Regions from separate parts of the Homo sapiens genome. Here regions 2, 3, 4 and 5 are each linked to region 1. Evidence: promoter capture Hi-C in 16 types of primary human blood cells and fetal thymus (Javierre and others, 2016). All regions are on one chromosome and are shown on one strand. The core of a region is centred on a gene start or on the middle of the fragment in contact, and the rest is flanking DNA. Distances in the headings are between cores, read along the strand shown. Region 1 holds the start of LINC01801 (long intergenic non-protein coding RNA 1801). Region 2 overlaps SCGB2B2 (secretoglobin family 2B member 2). Region 3 overlaps SCGB2B2 (secretoglobin family 2B member 2). Region 4 overlaps SCGB2B2 (secretoglobin family 2B member 2). Region 5 holds the start of ZNF792 (zinc finger protein 792).

What was found. The method cuts DNA at HindIII sites, captures the fragments that hold promoters and counts their contacts. A CHiCAGO score of 5 or more calls a contact.
Region 2: a contact is called between a fragment that was not itself captured here and the fragment with the promoter of LINC01801 in region 1, in 1 of 17 cell types (M2 macrophages). The highest score is 5.3, in M2 macrophages.
Region 3: a contact is called between a fragment that was not itself captured here and the fragment with the promoter of LINC01801 in region 1, in 3 of 17 cell types (megakaryocytes, erythroblasts and M1 macrophages). The highest score is 8.0, in megakaryocytes.
Region 4: a fragment that was not itself captured here is called in contact with the fragment with the promoter of LINC01801 in region 1 in 1 of 17 cell types (M1 macrophages); the score reaches 6.2 in M1 macrophages.
Region 5: the fragment with the promoter of ZNF792 here is called in contact with the fragment with the promoter of LINC01801 in region 1 in 13 of 17 cell types (naive CD8 T cells, total CD4 T cells, non-activated CD4 T cells and 10 more); the score reaches 22.5 in naive CD8 T cells.

What each region holds. Positions count from the first base shown.
Region 1 is chr19:34,831,435-34,834,439 of GRCh38, forward strand. LINC01801 (long intergenic non-protein coding RNA 1801) reads right to left here and starts at 1,435. Exons shown (of 6, transcript NR_033982.1): 1 at 1,291-1,435; 2 at 896-1,102. The HindIII fragment of the contact is 2,823 bases long and covers 1-1,762 here.
Region 2 is chr19:34,619,920-34,622,924 of GRCh38, forward strand. All of the region lies in intron 1 of SCGB2B2 (secretoglobin family 2B member 2), which reads right to left. It also overlaps the pseudogene ZNF807P and the pseudogene SCGB1B2P. Among named protein-coding and RNA genes, the nearest start is that of SCGB2B2, 56 kb to the right of the region's middle. The HindIII fragment of the contact is 2,831 bases long and covers 1-2,794 here.
Region 3 is chr19:34,638,864-34,641,868 of GRCh38, forward strand. The region is part of intron 1 of SCGB2B2 (secretoglobin family 2B member 2); the gene reads right to left. It also overlaps the pseudogene ZNF807P and the pseudogene SCGB1B2P. Among named protein-coding and RNA genes, the nearest start is that of SCGB2B2, 37 kb to the right of the region's middle. The HindIII fragment of the contact is 225 bases long and covers 1,644-1,868 here.
Region 4 is chr19:34,660,233-34,663,237 of GRCh38, forward strand. All of the region lies in intron 1 of SCGB2B2 (secretoglobin family 2B member 2), which reads right to left. It also overlaps the pseudogene ZNF807P and the pseudogene SCGB1B2P. Among named protein-coding and RNA genes, the nearest start is that of SCGB2B2, 15 kb to the right of the region's middle. The HindIII fragment of the contact is 170 bases long and covers 1,320-1,489 here.
Region 5 is chr19:34,962,623-34,965,627 of GRCh38, forward strand. It overlaps ZNF792 (zinc finger protein 792), which reads right to left and starts at 1,607. Exons shown (of 4, transcript NM_175872.5): 1 at 1,008-1,607. The coding sequence starts at 1,040. LOC124904699 (a long non-coding RNA gene) reads left to right here and starts at 804. Exons shown (of 2, transcript XR_007067236.1): 1 at 804-1,051. RefSeq lists silencers at 949-998, 1,109-1,368. The HindIII fragment of the contact is 6,406 bases long and covers 743-3,005 here.

The sequences.
Region 1 (3,005 bases), core at 185-2,684:
CACTCACTGGCCTTACATGTAGGCTACAGGCTAAATTTGTTGGCCCATAGGCTGCAGTGCTGACCCTTGCTGCGAAATATTTCTAGGAGAAAATACTCAAGACCTAAATCTATGGAGATATATATCATCCCTGTGGCCTGGAAAAGTTAATATTGGCAAGTTGTCCATCTTGGCCAGGACCCTGAAAGATAGTCTATGTTATTGTAAGAAAGATTGGTGTCCTTGGGGGCATGGGCTTTTAAGCCAGGGTGGAATCTGCAGAAGTCTGAGGTGCCATTTCCTGTCCCTATACCTGGGAGAAAATAGCTCTCAGACAGCTGTGTGGCTTTCTGCAAAGCTCAATTAGAAGAGAAATTATCAGGCGTGGTGGCGCATGCCTGCAGTCTCAGCTACTTGGGAAGCTGAGGTGGGAGGATCTCTTGAGCCCAGGAGTTCGAGGTTGCAGTGAGCTGTGACTCCAGCCTGTGTGACAGAGTGATACGCTGTCTGGAGAAATTCATCATGGAGATATGCTGATAATTGGTGGTCCCTGCCTACATCCTCCCAGGAGACTGAGCCAGACCCGGTGTGGCCAATGGTCCACTTATAAATTGAACCATGTTAGACCTCCTAACAGTGCAAGTACTCATTACAGCTCTGACATGGTGCTAAGCACCCCAAGTATTATAAACAAGTGTAATCCATTATGCACACACGGTGAGGCTACACCAAAGTCTGGTGGTTAAATGCATGATCTGTGGAATCAGACAGCATGGGTTCAAACCCTGGCTGGGGTGAGATGGGGAACTTTCTAAGGCTTAAATGCTGTTTTACCAAATATTTTAAAAGAAGTGAAAATACACTGCCTGTTAGAAAGGGAAGTTTTGGGGTGAAGCATGTGGGCAGTTTAGAATACCTGGTGTCCACCTCAGAAACCATCACAGCCCAGATGTTATAGGTTCAGGCCTTTCCAGGGCGGGCACATAGAATGTCCTCGCCTCCAAGGTTTGGAGAGCTGCGCTATAAAGGTTCTTGCAGGCGGTGTCCTGAGCCCAGAGCTGCCTGCAGGCGGGCAGGAGTTGTGGGGGTGTTGGCATGATCTGGTGTCCTCTGTGGCGGCTGCCTGAAAAGAAGAGGCCGAGGGTTCTTTGTCCTATGTCTCTCCGAATCTTAATACCTGCCCTGCAGCAGACTCCCTGGCTGCCAGGGCACACCGGTCACCCCGGTAGACGGTGCCGCCCCGCCCTCGCCAACCCCTTATCCCAACTCCCATTTCCAGCCTTCCAGGAAGCCCGATCCCCACCCCCGCACCATGTGAGCTGCTCCTCTACTCCGCGTAGGGGAGGCTCTGCCTCCGGTGACCCCGAGGGAAAGAGCTAGAGCACCCACAGGTGCTGACTGCTGCGGCGCTGAGGACGCTGCACACCCGTTCACCGGCTGACCCAGTGCTGCTGACAACCAGCGTCCGCGGCCCCCAACCGTCGAACAGAGCGCGTGGGACCATCTGGTGCCAAACGCCTGCAACGGAGTGCAGAAGGTCACGAGGCGCTAGAGACCGGTTGGGGGCAGGCGGTTGGGCCTTGACGCTCTTTGCTGGGCGTCGTTTTTTCTTCTCGCCCCCTTCGCTCCTGTGCGCTTAGTGCACAAGCCCTGGGCTCACACACCCTTTCTCTGTCACGTGTTCCAACAGCATCTCACCTGCATCGGGCTGAACAGGAGACCTCAATTTTCTCCTCTACTCCAAGGATTCGCCGGCTCACAATTGCTCTTCATATCTTCAGCAAGCTTTGTCTGTGCCCTGCCCCTCTGTCCCCCATTGCCTACCATACCCGCTCCCACCAAGCCTGCATCACCTCGCTGTCTCTGTGCCTCTCCCCGGCCCCCTTCCAGGCCTTTCTCCCACAATTTCTGGTCTTTGCTCCTGGGTGTTCCGTCGACCCTAAGAGGCGGTGTCTGATCTGGCAGGCTCAATGCCTTTCTCTGGCGCTGTCTGCACCTCCAATATATTCAGTGACTCAGGAAGGATCCATCCTGCAGGGCCCAGATAGACTCTCCTGTTTGCCACCTGAGCAGAAAGGCACCTCTGTGAGGTCTTTGCCACCCAGTCACCCTACCAGACCCAATCAGCACGTGGGAGACGTGGATGACAGGAGGACAGAGATGGAGAGGGACCAAAAGACTACATGGGGCCTTGAAGGATGTCATAAGAACGTTGCCTTTTACTGAGAGATGGGAACCATGGAGGGTTTCAAACTGCTGAGACTGGCATGATATGACTTAGGGCTTTTTTGTTTGTTTGTTTGTTTGTTTTTTCTTTTTTGTGACGGAGTCTCAGAGTCTTCCTCTGTCATCCAGGCTGGAGTGCAGTGGTGTGATCTTGGTTCACTAGAACCTCTGTCTCCCGGGTTCAAGACATTCTCCTGCCTCAGCCTCCCGAGTAGCTGGGATTACAGGCACCCACCACCACGCCCGGCTAATTTTTGTCTTTTTAGATGTTTTATCTCAGAGAAAGAGCTTCCATGTTCTCTAACTCTTGTAAACAGGTATTCTTCAAGAAACTTTACAATATAACATTCATACACAGAAGTGTACAAATCATCTGTCTATTCCTCAATACATTTTTGCAGAATGAACAAACCTATGTAATCTAGATCAAGAAGCAAAACACAGGCACCTCAGAATCAACCTCATGCTCATTCCTAGTCACTATGCCCCTCCCAAATTTTTAACATTATAGATTAGTTTTGCCTATTTAAAAACTTTATATAAATGGAACCCTACCATGTGTCCTGTTTGTGGCTGTGTCTTTTCATTCAACACTTCATAAAATTCATCCATGTTGTTGCTTTTAGCAGCACTTTATTCTTTTATATTGCTGTGTGATGTTCCATTGAACAAATATAATTTACCCATTCTATTATTGATGGATGTTTGGCTATTAGAAATAATAATGCTACTGTGGCTAGGTGTAGTGGCTCATGCCTGTAATCCTAGCAGTTTGGGAGACTGAGGAGGGAGGATTGCTT
Region 2 (3,005 bases), core at 129-2,628, 210 kb before region 1:
TACAGAAAGTTACTTGGATGAATAACCTTTTCAAGTGCACAACTGGAATTAACTTTTAGATAACTTTTGAATTAGATAAAATTATTCTTTTTTAAAAAAAAATAGAACACATTTTCCTTGGCACATTTTATGTAAACCCAGGAAGCAAGAAATCCTAAATTGCCTATCAGATACTAGCATTTTATAGATGAGCACCATTCTACAATTTTGGAACGTGTTCTCAATATAATAATCTTTTCTTAATTGGAAATGACCCAGGTATATACCCAAAGAATTATAAATCACTTTACTATAAAGACACATGTACACATATGTTTATTGTGGCACTATTCACAATAGCAAAGACTTGGAACCAACCCAAATGTCCATCAATGATAGACTAGATTAAGAAAATGTGGCACATATACACCATGGAATATTATGCAGCCATAAAAAAGGATGAGTTCATGTCCTTTGTAGGGACATGGATGAAGCTGGAAACCATCATTCTGAGCAAACTATTGCAAGGACAGAAAACCAAACACTGCATGTTCTCACTCATAGGTGGGAATTGAACAATGAGAACACTTGGACATAGGGTGGGGTACATCACACACCAGGGTGGGGGGAGGGGGGAGGGATTGCATTAGGAGATATACCTAATGTAAATGACAAGTTAATGGGTGCAGCACACCAACATGGAACATGTATACATATGTAACAAACCTGCACGTTGTGCACATGTACCCTAGAACTTAAAGTATATATTTTAAAAAGTCAGATGAATTTTCTGCCTAGGAAAAAGCATTTAAATTATAATTCATAGTTCCAATGAGTTGGCAGTGAAATTGGGGCCATGAGATGTTCCAGCAGCGATGGAGATGGGGCAAATCTTATAGTATTAACATCACACCATTTGGCAATAATGTCAAAAGTTACAAAAATACTTGAAATCAGTAATTATGAGAATGTATACTGGGAAAACTTTCAAAATAAATTCAATCTATATGCAAAAAAAGAGAATGTTCCAATACTTGAAATCAGTAATTATGTTTATGAGAATGTATACTGGGAAAACTTTCAAAATAAATTCAAGCTATATGCAAAAAAAAGAGAATGTTCCTATTCCTTATTTATAATCCTTAAATAGTGTTCCTATTCCTGAAAGATTAAAGTCGCATGAAGTAAAAGGCATTACAGCTTTTATTTTTCCTTCAAAAAATATTTTATCTAAGTGCTTATTTTTAAAGCCAGTTAATTATAACTTTTTTTGTATAACCATTACACACATAACATATATATGACTACACAGACAGAAGAAAACCCAGCAGTTGTAAGGTTTTTTTGTTCGTCAATTTTCTAATTGGATTATTGGCCTCAGGGTGGAGCTCTTTAAGAACAGGGCTAGGAAAGCATACAGTTTCTAGGGCCTAATAAACAGGCATACCTGAAAGGCAAAAAGAGATTTTGAGTGGGTTATATTCACCTCTAATTCTTGGGGTTTCATGAGGAAAAGAGAGATGTCTCACAAAATGGAATCCTTGGCATTTTTTTTTTTTCCCCAAGGAGTCCCAGGCCATCAGAAGCTATCTAGGGCCTTTCATACATGCACTGACTGGCAAGACAAAGTGGAGAAAAGTAATTTAGTCAACTGAGAAAAAAAAAAACCTTTTCAGAAAAACAAGATCCAAGGAGAGAAAAACATAAAAATCTTTTAAATATATCTATAACTTGGATATCCTCTTTTAATTAAGCTGAGCATTCTTTAAGAATATCCTTTTTCATTAATTAAAACTTTACAGGGAATATAAACAATGATTCTTATCATTCCTTTCACTGGTTTGCACAGGGACAGAGAGGCCAAAAGTCTGACTGTAAAAAAACTTTTATCCTTTTACCAGCATGTCTGGCTTCTGGGTTTTCTAGGGGAGTTTCTTTGAGGTCCTCCTTGGCTGCATAGGTTTGCATGACTGTTCAAAGCCATATTCAGGTTCTTCAGTTTCCTCTGGGAGGAAAGTGTCTGGGTTCAGGCAAGGACAGGTTTTTTTAACTGGACTGTAGATTCCTCTAACAGCAGAGCCTGATCTTTGAGGAGGTGATTATCTGTTGGCCAGGGACTTCTCTTAGAAGACAGCAGTTCTGCCGCATTATGTGGGTTATATACAGTTAAGTCATTCCTCATGGTTAACTTGGTGGCCACTGACACCAGTAAAGCCACTGCTGTAACTGCTCAGAGGCAAGCTGGCCGTACTTTAGCCATCAACTCAAGCTCCTTGCTTAGGTAACCTACTGGCTGTTGAGCTGGACCTTGAGCCTGAGTTAAAACTCCCAGGGCCATTCTCTTCCTTTTTGCTACATAGAGACTGAATGTCTTTCCTATGGGAAGACTAAGGGCTGGTGCTTTAAGCAAGGCTTGTTTTAACTGGTTAAAGCCTTTTTGAGCCCCAGGTTCCCAAGTCAGGGACTGAGTTTTAGCTGCTTGCATTTCTTTTATGAGGTGGTATAAAGGGCGAGTTATCTCACTGTACCTGGGTATTCCTAGTTTGCAAAATTCAATAATGCCTAAGAATCCCTTCAGATGTTTAAGCATTTTGGGAAGGGCAAAGAGGAAATGGGCTTAATCATTTCCTTACCTAGTGCTCTTGTTCCTTCTGACAGGACTAGATATAGGTACTTTACTGAAGTTTGAAAGAGCTGAGCCTTAAATTTTGAAACCCTATATCCCCTTTCAGCTAAAAAATTGAGGAGAGCCTCAGTGTCTTCCTGAGACTTTCTCAGTTGGGGCACAGAGGAGAATGTCATCTACATACTGCAAAGCTTCAACCTGAGGGTGAGAAAAATCAGAGAGATCTTTGGACACGGCCTGTTTTTGCAACTTCCTTCAGATATTAGGGGCTGCCTGAGTAATAAACTTGTCCTTTAAGATTAGCTGTCCTTCAATTGAAATGAGAGATAGAAAGGTGTGTTTCACTAAAGCTTCTCTCAGCCTTTCCAAAAAGGCTGAGGGGTTTTCATCTAGGTTTTTT
Region 3 (3,005 bases), core at 506-3,005, 190 kb before region 1:
AAAAGGGACCATATCAAGTTCTTCTTCCCACCCAAATTGCAGTAAAACTTCAGGGTTGCAAACCTTAGATCTACATCACACAATTCAAAGGGACCTCTGCAGACTCTTGAAGTTTTTCTCCAGAAGCAGACAGCATCTTACATATGTACAGCTCTCCTAAGACCATGGGCCAAGACTTACCTCCATCCTGAAAGCCGTATCCTTTTACTTTTTTTCCCCTAATTTTCTTCTGCCCCAATTATTTCCTTTTCCTTACAGGAAAATCCATGGGACCATAATCTGTGGATAGCTTTACCTAAGGCTTATTCTGTAGCAAAAAACTTGAGTAATCCTTGGGCTTGTGGGTTAATGCCAAAAACTCAAGAAGCAATTTCACAAATGCCAATGCCTCCCTGTGTTCCCAATTCACCCTGACGCTCCAAAGGAAGAACAGAAAGCTATCTTGATATTCTAGACATCACTACCACTTGTTTTCCTACACTTGCTGGAAACAATATCCTAACCTTTCCAATTAGTAACCTAATCACTACCAAATATAGAAAACACATTCGAGTGATGCCTGCAAAAGATGTATTATGCTTCCAGGCATCACATACTCAAGATCTGGGGACTATGTATGCAGGCTATTCGTGCATAGTATCATAAGTAATTGCTATATAATGTCACCAGAACAAATCCAGTAGGGTCCTTCTTCATGTGGTTATACACCTTAACAGCATGCTGTAAAGGGACCACAAAGAATTTTCCCACTGAACTTTGTTCAGGAGCCATCAGGCTTACAGGTCAAATTTAACTTACTTCTGCTCAAACACCACCAGGAGGCGCTCTTTTCCAATGCTTGAGGACCTATCTTGGGTCCGCAGAGAATTTGCTTACCCTTTCTTCCTCTTCACTGGTTTAGATCTTGCTCTTTGATGGGTCTCACTCCTGCCTTTTGAATAGCTTCCTCTGACAGTTCCCATAATACCTTCCATAATCAGAGGCCAAAACAGTAAACAAAATGATCATCGGCCTTGAAAGAGACTAAGATAAGCTAGTTTCTACTGAGGAAAGGTTCCAGTGGGGTTCCTGAGGGCTTGCTCTTGGTGGTAGTAGGGTGCTGGTAGTGTGGAATTCAGAACAGATCCATAAATTGGGGAAAATCTTGGACTTTATGGCCAACCAAACCTTCCAGTGGTTCAGTAGAAGCCACCCTCCAAAAGGTAGATGATAACCTATGCATCTAACAAAACACTTAATAGAATATCATGCAGCTTAATTTATTTGAGATAAGGTCTTGCTGTGTCACCCAGGTGGGAATACAGTGGGGCTCACTGCAGCCTCGACCTCCTGGACTCAAGGGATCCCCCCACCTCAGCCTCCTGAGTATCTGGGATCACAGGTGTGCACCAGACCTGGCTAATTTTTAATTTCTCTTTTTTTTTTTAAATAGAGACAGGGTCTCCCTATGTTGCCCAGGCTGGTCTCAAACTCCTGGGCTCAAGTGATCCTCTCATCTTGGCCTCCCAAAGTACTGGGATTACAGGTGTGAGCCCCTGCACCCAGCCTCATGCAGCTTTACATCATTTTGATCATGTTGGGGACTTGTGCTGAATCAAACTGAGTGCTGTATCTACACTTCCCCTGATTTTGCTACTATGGAAAGCTTAATTTAAAAGGTGGCTATTTCTTTAGATACTTTTATCAAATACATGAAGAAAATTTCAATAGATGAAGAAAAAAAATTTTTTTTAACTCTGGTAAAATATACATAGCATGAAGTTAATCATTTTAACTATGTTAAGTGTATAGTTCAGTGGCATTAAGTACATTCACGATGTTGTGCCACCATCACCACTATCGATGTCCAAAACTTTTCATGAATGGCAAGCTTAGCTTTTCCAGGGTTTTTGAATCTTTATGTTTTTTTCTGGTGGGTCTCCAGGTTACTATGACTTACAGTACCAGGCTAATGACATAAACTGATACCTCTTTATTATTATTTTTTTCCAGATGTGAAATTATAAATGCAGGGACTTAGAGCTCATACAACTTTAAAAAGGTTGGGAAAGTGAAGTTATCACCACTTGGTTATATCTCCTAAGGAAACTAATTTGAGGTCTCCCCTTCTCAATTTTTCCTTCTTTATAGGTACTATTAATGCCCTAGCCCAGCAACCTGACTTATTATTGAATATATTCGGGGTGTGATGGTGAATACTTAATCACCATCACACCCCAAACAAAGATTATGACCAATTGGACTCAAATACTATTGAGCTGCTTATATGCCTGGACTTTGACTTGTTTGGTTTTGACTGGTTTTGTTCATAGGGCCTCCTGTGAAGGAGTACACTTTGGTCTCTTGGTATTATTTTCTGGTAGTCATCGTAATAGTCCCCCTGGTGCACTGTATCCTGTCAAATCTTAAATGTGTGTATGCAGACATCCATTGTGCACTGAATGGTCTCCCTTTGGCTAGATCAGCAAGAATACAATTATTTAACTGATCTGACATCATGACTTGTGAATTCCGTGCTGAGGCCAAGTAAGTCTAATACAATGGTGACAGACAGTGTCAATGCCCAGGGTTTTGGTCACTATGTCAAAATCCAATGGCTGACCCAAAGTGGGGAATTGGCAAATTGAACTAAATTTGGCCTGAGGCTGTCTCCATATCTTGAGTCCTCGTGGAGCTGGTTTGGAGTTTCGTTTTGGAATTTGGTAGCGGAAGGTCAAGGTCGTTTGCCAGATGGCTATAACTTCTCTTTATGCTCAAAGATCTTGACAGTATGTAAATTGGGTGATCACCTTTTCTATTTCTAGTTTTGGTTGATCTTCTGTTAGGTTTGACCAACTCTTGGCCCCTCTTATGTCGACTAAAACTCCTGCAGCTGCAGAAAGTCAAGTTCCAGCACTAGAAACAAGGACCAGTTAAGAGAAATCATTTTACCCCAAAAATATATTTCTTTGACATATTTTGAAGGGACCCTGCTAGATCTTTCCTAGTCTAGATCTAGGAAAGAT
Region 4 (3,005 bases), core at 155-2,654, 170 kb before region 1:
TTATGACTGAAACACCAAAAGCAATGGCAACAAAAGCCAAAATAGACAAATGGGATCTAATTGAACTAAAGAGCTTCTGCACAGCAAAAGAAACTATCATCAGAGTGAACAAGCAACCTACAGAATTGGAGAAAATTTTCGTAATCTACCCATCTGACAAAGGGCTAATATCCAGAATCTACAAAGAACTTAAACAAATTTACAAGAAAAAAGCAAACAACCCCATCAAAAAGTGGGCAAAGGATATGACCAGACACTTCTCAAAAGAAGACATTTATGCAGCCAACAGATATATGAAAAAATGCTCATCATCACTGGTCATCAGAGAAATGCAAATCAAAACCACAGTGAGATACCAGTTAGAATGGCGATCATTAAAAATCAGGAAACAACAGATGTTGGAGAGGATGTGGAGAAATAGGAATGCTTTTACATTGTTGGTTGAAGAGTAAATTAGTTCAACCATTGTGGAAGACAGTGTGGCGATTCCTCAAGGATCTAGAACTAGAAATACCATTTGACCCAGCGATCCCTTTACTGGGTATATACCCAAAGAATTATAAATCACTCTACTATAAAGACACATGTACACATATGTTTATTGCAGCACTATTCACAATAGCAAAGACTTGGAACCAACCCAAATGTCCATCAATGATAGAATGGATTAAGAAAATGTGGCACATATACACCATGGAATACTATGCAGCCATAAGAATGGATGAGTGCATGTCCTTTGCAGGGACATGGATGAAGCTGGAAACCATCATTCTCAGCAAATTATCACAAGGACAGAAAGCCAAACACCACATATTCTCACTCATAGGTGGGAGTTGAACAATGAGAACACATGGACACAGGGCAGGGAATATCACATGTCGGGGCCTGTCGGGGGTGGGGGGCTGGGGTAGGGATACCATTAGGAGAAATACTTAATGTAGGCGATGAGTTGATGGGTGCAGTAAACCAACATGGCACATGTATACCTATGTAACAAACCTGCATGTTATGCACATGTACCCTAGAACTCAAAGTATAATAAAAAAATAAATAAATAAACGTGCAATGACATTAAAAAAAAGAAATACATATGTAAAAAATTATTGTGATAAAATAAGGGAGACCAAAATAAATGGCAACATGTACCAGTGTTATGGAGAGGAATATTCAATATTATCAAAATTTCAGTTCTCTCCAAATTGAATTCAAAAAGCTGTTTCTAAACATCTGGCACTGTAGAGGGCCAAAACCAGCAAAGACATTCTAGGAACAAGGCCAAAGTAGAAGGACTCCCTCTGCCAGAGTCAAGAACTAAGTAAAGCTTTAGTGTGTACTCAACGCAGTGCCACACTGGCATAGAGACAGACAAAGAGACCAGCGACATGAAATAGGGAACCCAGAAGCAAACTATGTCCCTCTATGGGGCACTTGGTTGTTGACAAAAGGGACACTGAGAATAATGGAATAAGGGCCATCTTCTCTTAAACCAAGCTTGTCCAACCTGCGGCCTGCAGGCCCCATGCAGCCCAGGACAGCTTTGAATGTGGCCCAACACAAATTTGTAAACTTTTTAAAAACATTATGAGTTTTTCTGTGATTTTTTTTTTTAGCTCATTAGCTATTGTTAGTGTTAGTGTATTTTTTTTTAATTTAATTTAATTTTTTTGAGATGGAGTCTTGCTCTGTCACCAGGCTGGAGTGCAGTGGCCTGATCTCGGCTCATCGTAACCTCTGCCTCCCAGGTTCAAGCAATTCTCCTGCCTCAGCCTCCCAAGTAGCTAGGACTACATGTGTGTGCCACCACTCCAAGCTAATTTTTTTGTATTTTTAGTGGAGAGGAGCTTTCACCATGTTGGCCAGAATGGTCTTAATCTCTTGATCTCGTAATCCACCTGCCTTGGCCTCCCAAAGTGCTGGGATTACAGGTGTGAGCCACCGCGCCGGGCCATGTTAGTGTATTTTATGTGTGACCCAAAACAATTCTTCTTCTTTCAGTGTGGCCCGTGGAAGCCAAAAGATTACACAACCCTGTCCTAAACTGGGACAGCAGGGAATCTATATAATTAAAAAGAAAGGGAGTTCTTACCCACACTTCACGTAAAAGTCCATTCCATGTACTTTAGAGACCTCAATGGGCAATCCAAAACAATAAAGACTTTACAAATCTTTATGTAGAAGAATATCTTTATGACCATGACATGAGAATCTTTTTTCCAAAGGAATAAAACCATATTAAAAATAACAATAAAGAGATAAAAATGTTTTTTAAACAACACACACACACACACACACACACAACATGAAGCATAAAGTATAACATTGATAAATTTAATTATATTAAACTTTAAACTTCTGCTCATTAAAAACCATAAGGAAAATACAAAGCTGATCCACAGTGTTGGGGAACACATTTCCCACAAATAACCAAACAAGGGCTCTTATCAAGAAAATATAAAGAACTCCTTTAGCACATTGGGAGGCCAAGGCACAGGAGTTCAAGACCAGCCTGGGCAACATGGTGAAATCCGTCTCTACTGAAAATACAAAAATTAGCCAGGCACAGTGGTATGTGCCTGTAGTTCCAGCTACTCAGGAGGCTGAAACAGGAGGATCGCTTGAGCTCAGGAGGTTGAGGCTGCAGTGAACCGAGATCATGCCACTGTACTTTAGCCTGGGCGGCTGAGAGAGACCCTGTCTCCAAAAAAACAAACAAACAAACAAACAAACAAAAAAAAACAATAAAAGTGCGGAAAAAGCCTTCTACTCACATTTCACTAAATGACTGATAAACATATGAAGAGGCCTCAACCTCATTACACCACAAAATGCAAATGGAAACCCAATGAGATGCCGACGCCCCTGACACCTGCCTACCAGATGGTTCACACGACACTGACAATGCCACCTTGTGGCGATCTAGAGCAGTAGGAAATACTACAGTGTGGCTGGGGGTGTGCATTGTACAACTGCTTCAAAGGTTTCCTGTTTCCTAGAACAGTCAAGAA
Region 5 (3,005 bases), core at 357-2,856, 130 kb after region 1:
TTCCTGCTGTATGGGTTGTTTATTGTAGATAAGGGGGTTGGTTTCCTGGGCAGGTTCTGGGGCAGAGTTCTATTTGTATACATGATCTGGCCATTGTTCGAATGAATATCCAGTCTCTCATTACCTTAACAACTCCCTCAGAACACCCGAACTGTGTGTTCAGCGGCCCACTCTTCAACTCCATTTGGGGGTCTCTGGGACATCACAGGCTCAACTTGGCCAAAACCTAACTTCTACTGCTTCCATGGAAAATTCCTCCTAAAACCAACTTCTCAGTTCATAAAGCTGGATTCATCAAACCAAAAACCATGGATTCTTCCCTCCTCTTTCTCACCCTCCACATCGGAAAATTTGGTCAGCTTGACTTAAAAGACATCAAGTTCCCAATCACTTCCTCTACCTCCAGTCCTCACTCTGGTCCGGCCAGCCGCAGCACTGGCCTGGGCTATTCCATTAGGCTACTCCTTGGCATCCCTGCTTGCGGCTCACTCCATATTCAGTTCTCCACTGTGCATCCACAGGGAGCCTGTTAAGACCTGAGTCACAGCATCTTCCTCCTCTGCCCTAAACCTTCCATGGCTCCCAACACCCTCAGAACAGAGGCCCAGCTCTGCCGTTCTGAGCTGTCTTCAGCCCACCTGCTCTCTGGTTCCAGCAGACATAATATTAATAACACTGACCTGGGTGGGGTTCCTTGAACACTCCCAACTCAGTCTCCACACCGTGCCCCACCCCACCCCCAAGCTTTTGCGCACGCTGGTTCCTGTGCCTACAAAGCCCTTTCTCCCTCCATCCCATTACATTTCAGCAACGGAAGCCACTTTATATAAACCCTGCCCTGATTCAGGATCCTAGCTGGGAGCAACTCCCTTCCAGGGTCCCCTGACTCAAAAGCAAGGAAATGGGAAAGGCGAAAAGTCCTAGAACAAAGCCATCTTTTGCGTCTCAACACCGAGAACAGAAGCGTGGGGGGCCGACAGCGAAGGGCCTAACGTCCAAGCACTCACCTGCGCGGGGTCCCGCAGCGCCGCCGCTGCCATCGGAGTCTGTGGTCAGAGCAGGGCCCCACGGTGCGGGAAACCACGGGGCGGGGGTAGGGGGTCTCGCAGGCTGAGGCTACCACCCACCTGGCCGTGCCCCAGACGAGGTGTGACCCCGGGCTGAGGGTCGCACTCCTAGCCTCAGTCTCCCCCGTGCAAAATGCGCAAGGGGCCCGGGGCGCAGGCTCCGGGGGCGCCGAGAGCGCGCAGCTCCGCTGGGTACCCCCGTTGCAAGGGGTCACGGCTGGTGCAAAGGCGCGGAGGGGGTCCCGGCCTCACTGTCCCCCTCGCGGTCCGGGAAAGCCGGCGGGGCAGCTTCACGGGCGTAGCCCCAGCCGCCCCGCCCCCAACTCGGGGTCCCCAGCTCCTGGGGACTCAGCCTCCCCGCCGGGAAATGACCTGCGAGGCTGCAGTGCAGGAAGTTCCGGCCCCCACCGTGGCGGCCGGGAGAGTTGCCCTCTCCCGTACTGTCATTGGCCTGGCGCCAGCCGCTGGTGCACAGGCAGGGCCTGGGGATCGCGAGTTTCTGCCCAGCCTCTCGTCAGGCTGAGGGTCCAGGGCGGGAAGGAGAGCGGATCTCGTCGGGTCTCCACCGCCGCCGCCTGCAGCCCTCGGGCCTTCCCCTTAAAGGGGCCGCTCCCGAGCCTGCAGCCGCCCGCGCTAAACCCCGCCCACCCTCCGAGGTCCAGGAGGAGAGCCCCAGTGCTCTTCCTGCGCGTGTGGGCATCGGCCAGCCGCTTCACCCCTAAGGGACCTAAATTCACACTGGAAAATGGGGATAGTACCCAATGGGCGGGGTCTTTGCGTTGTAATATTAAATGTCGCTCTGATTCAGGGCTTCTCAAACCAGCAACATCAGCATCACCTGGGGACTGGCTGAAAATGCAGGTTCTGGGGCAACAACTTAAATCTAAGGACTCAGAAATTCTGGGGATGGGATTCAGCCTTCTCTACTTTTTGCGGGGGGGGCGGGGGGGATGGGTCTCGTTCTGTTGTCCAGGCTGGAGTGCAGTGGCCTGATCATAGCTCACTGCAGCCTCCATCTCGGGCTCAAGCTATCCTCCTGCCTCAGCCTACCAGGTAGATGGGATACAGGCGTGCACCATCATACACAGCTAATTTTAAAATTTTTTGTAGAGACTGGATCTCCCTGTGATGCCTAGGCTGGTCTCAAACTCCTGAGCTCAAGTGATCCTCTCACCTCGGCCTCCCAAAGTGTTGGGAATTGCAGGAGTGAGCCATGGTGCCAGGCCTCCTTCTCTGTTTTAACAAGCCCTCTGGGGACTCCAATGCTGGCTCCAACTTTACAGCAGGGACTCTCATTGAAATCCAGTAAATAAAATGGGAAAAATAACACTACATTGTTGCAGGAAGTCAGGGACCCCGAACGGAGGGACCTGCTGAAGCCGTGACAGAAGAACATTAATTGTGAAGATTTCATGGACATTTATTAGTTCCCCAAATTAATACTTTTATAATTTCTTATGCCTGTCTTTACTGCAATCTCTGAACATAAATTGTGAAGATTTCATGGACATGTATCGCTTCCCCAATCAATACTCTTGTGATTTCCTATGCCTGACTTTACTTTAATCTCTTAATCCTGTCATCTTCGTAAGCTGAGGATGTATGTCATCTCAGGACCCTGTGATGATTGCGTTAACTGCACAGATTGTTTGTAGGGCATGTGTGTTTGAACAATATGAAATCTGGGCACCTTAAGAACAGGATAACAGCGATTTTCAGGGAACAAGGGAGATAACCTTAAAGTCTGGCTGCCTGTGGGACGGGCAGGACAGAGCCATATTTCTCCTATTACCAAAAACGGGTAAGAGAAATATCGCTGAATTCTTTCCCCAGTAAGGAATATTAATAATTAACAGCCCTGGGAAAATAATGCATTCCCAGGGCAGTGCCTCTAAAATGGCTGCCCTGGGAGTGTCTGCCTTATGCACATGTAGATAG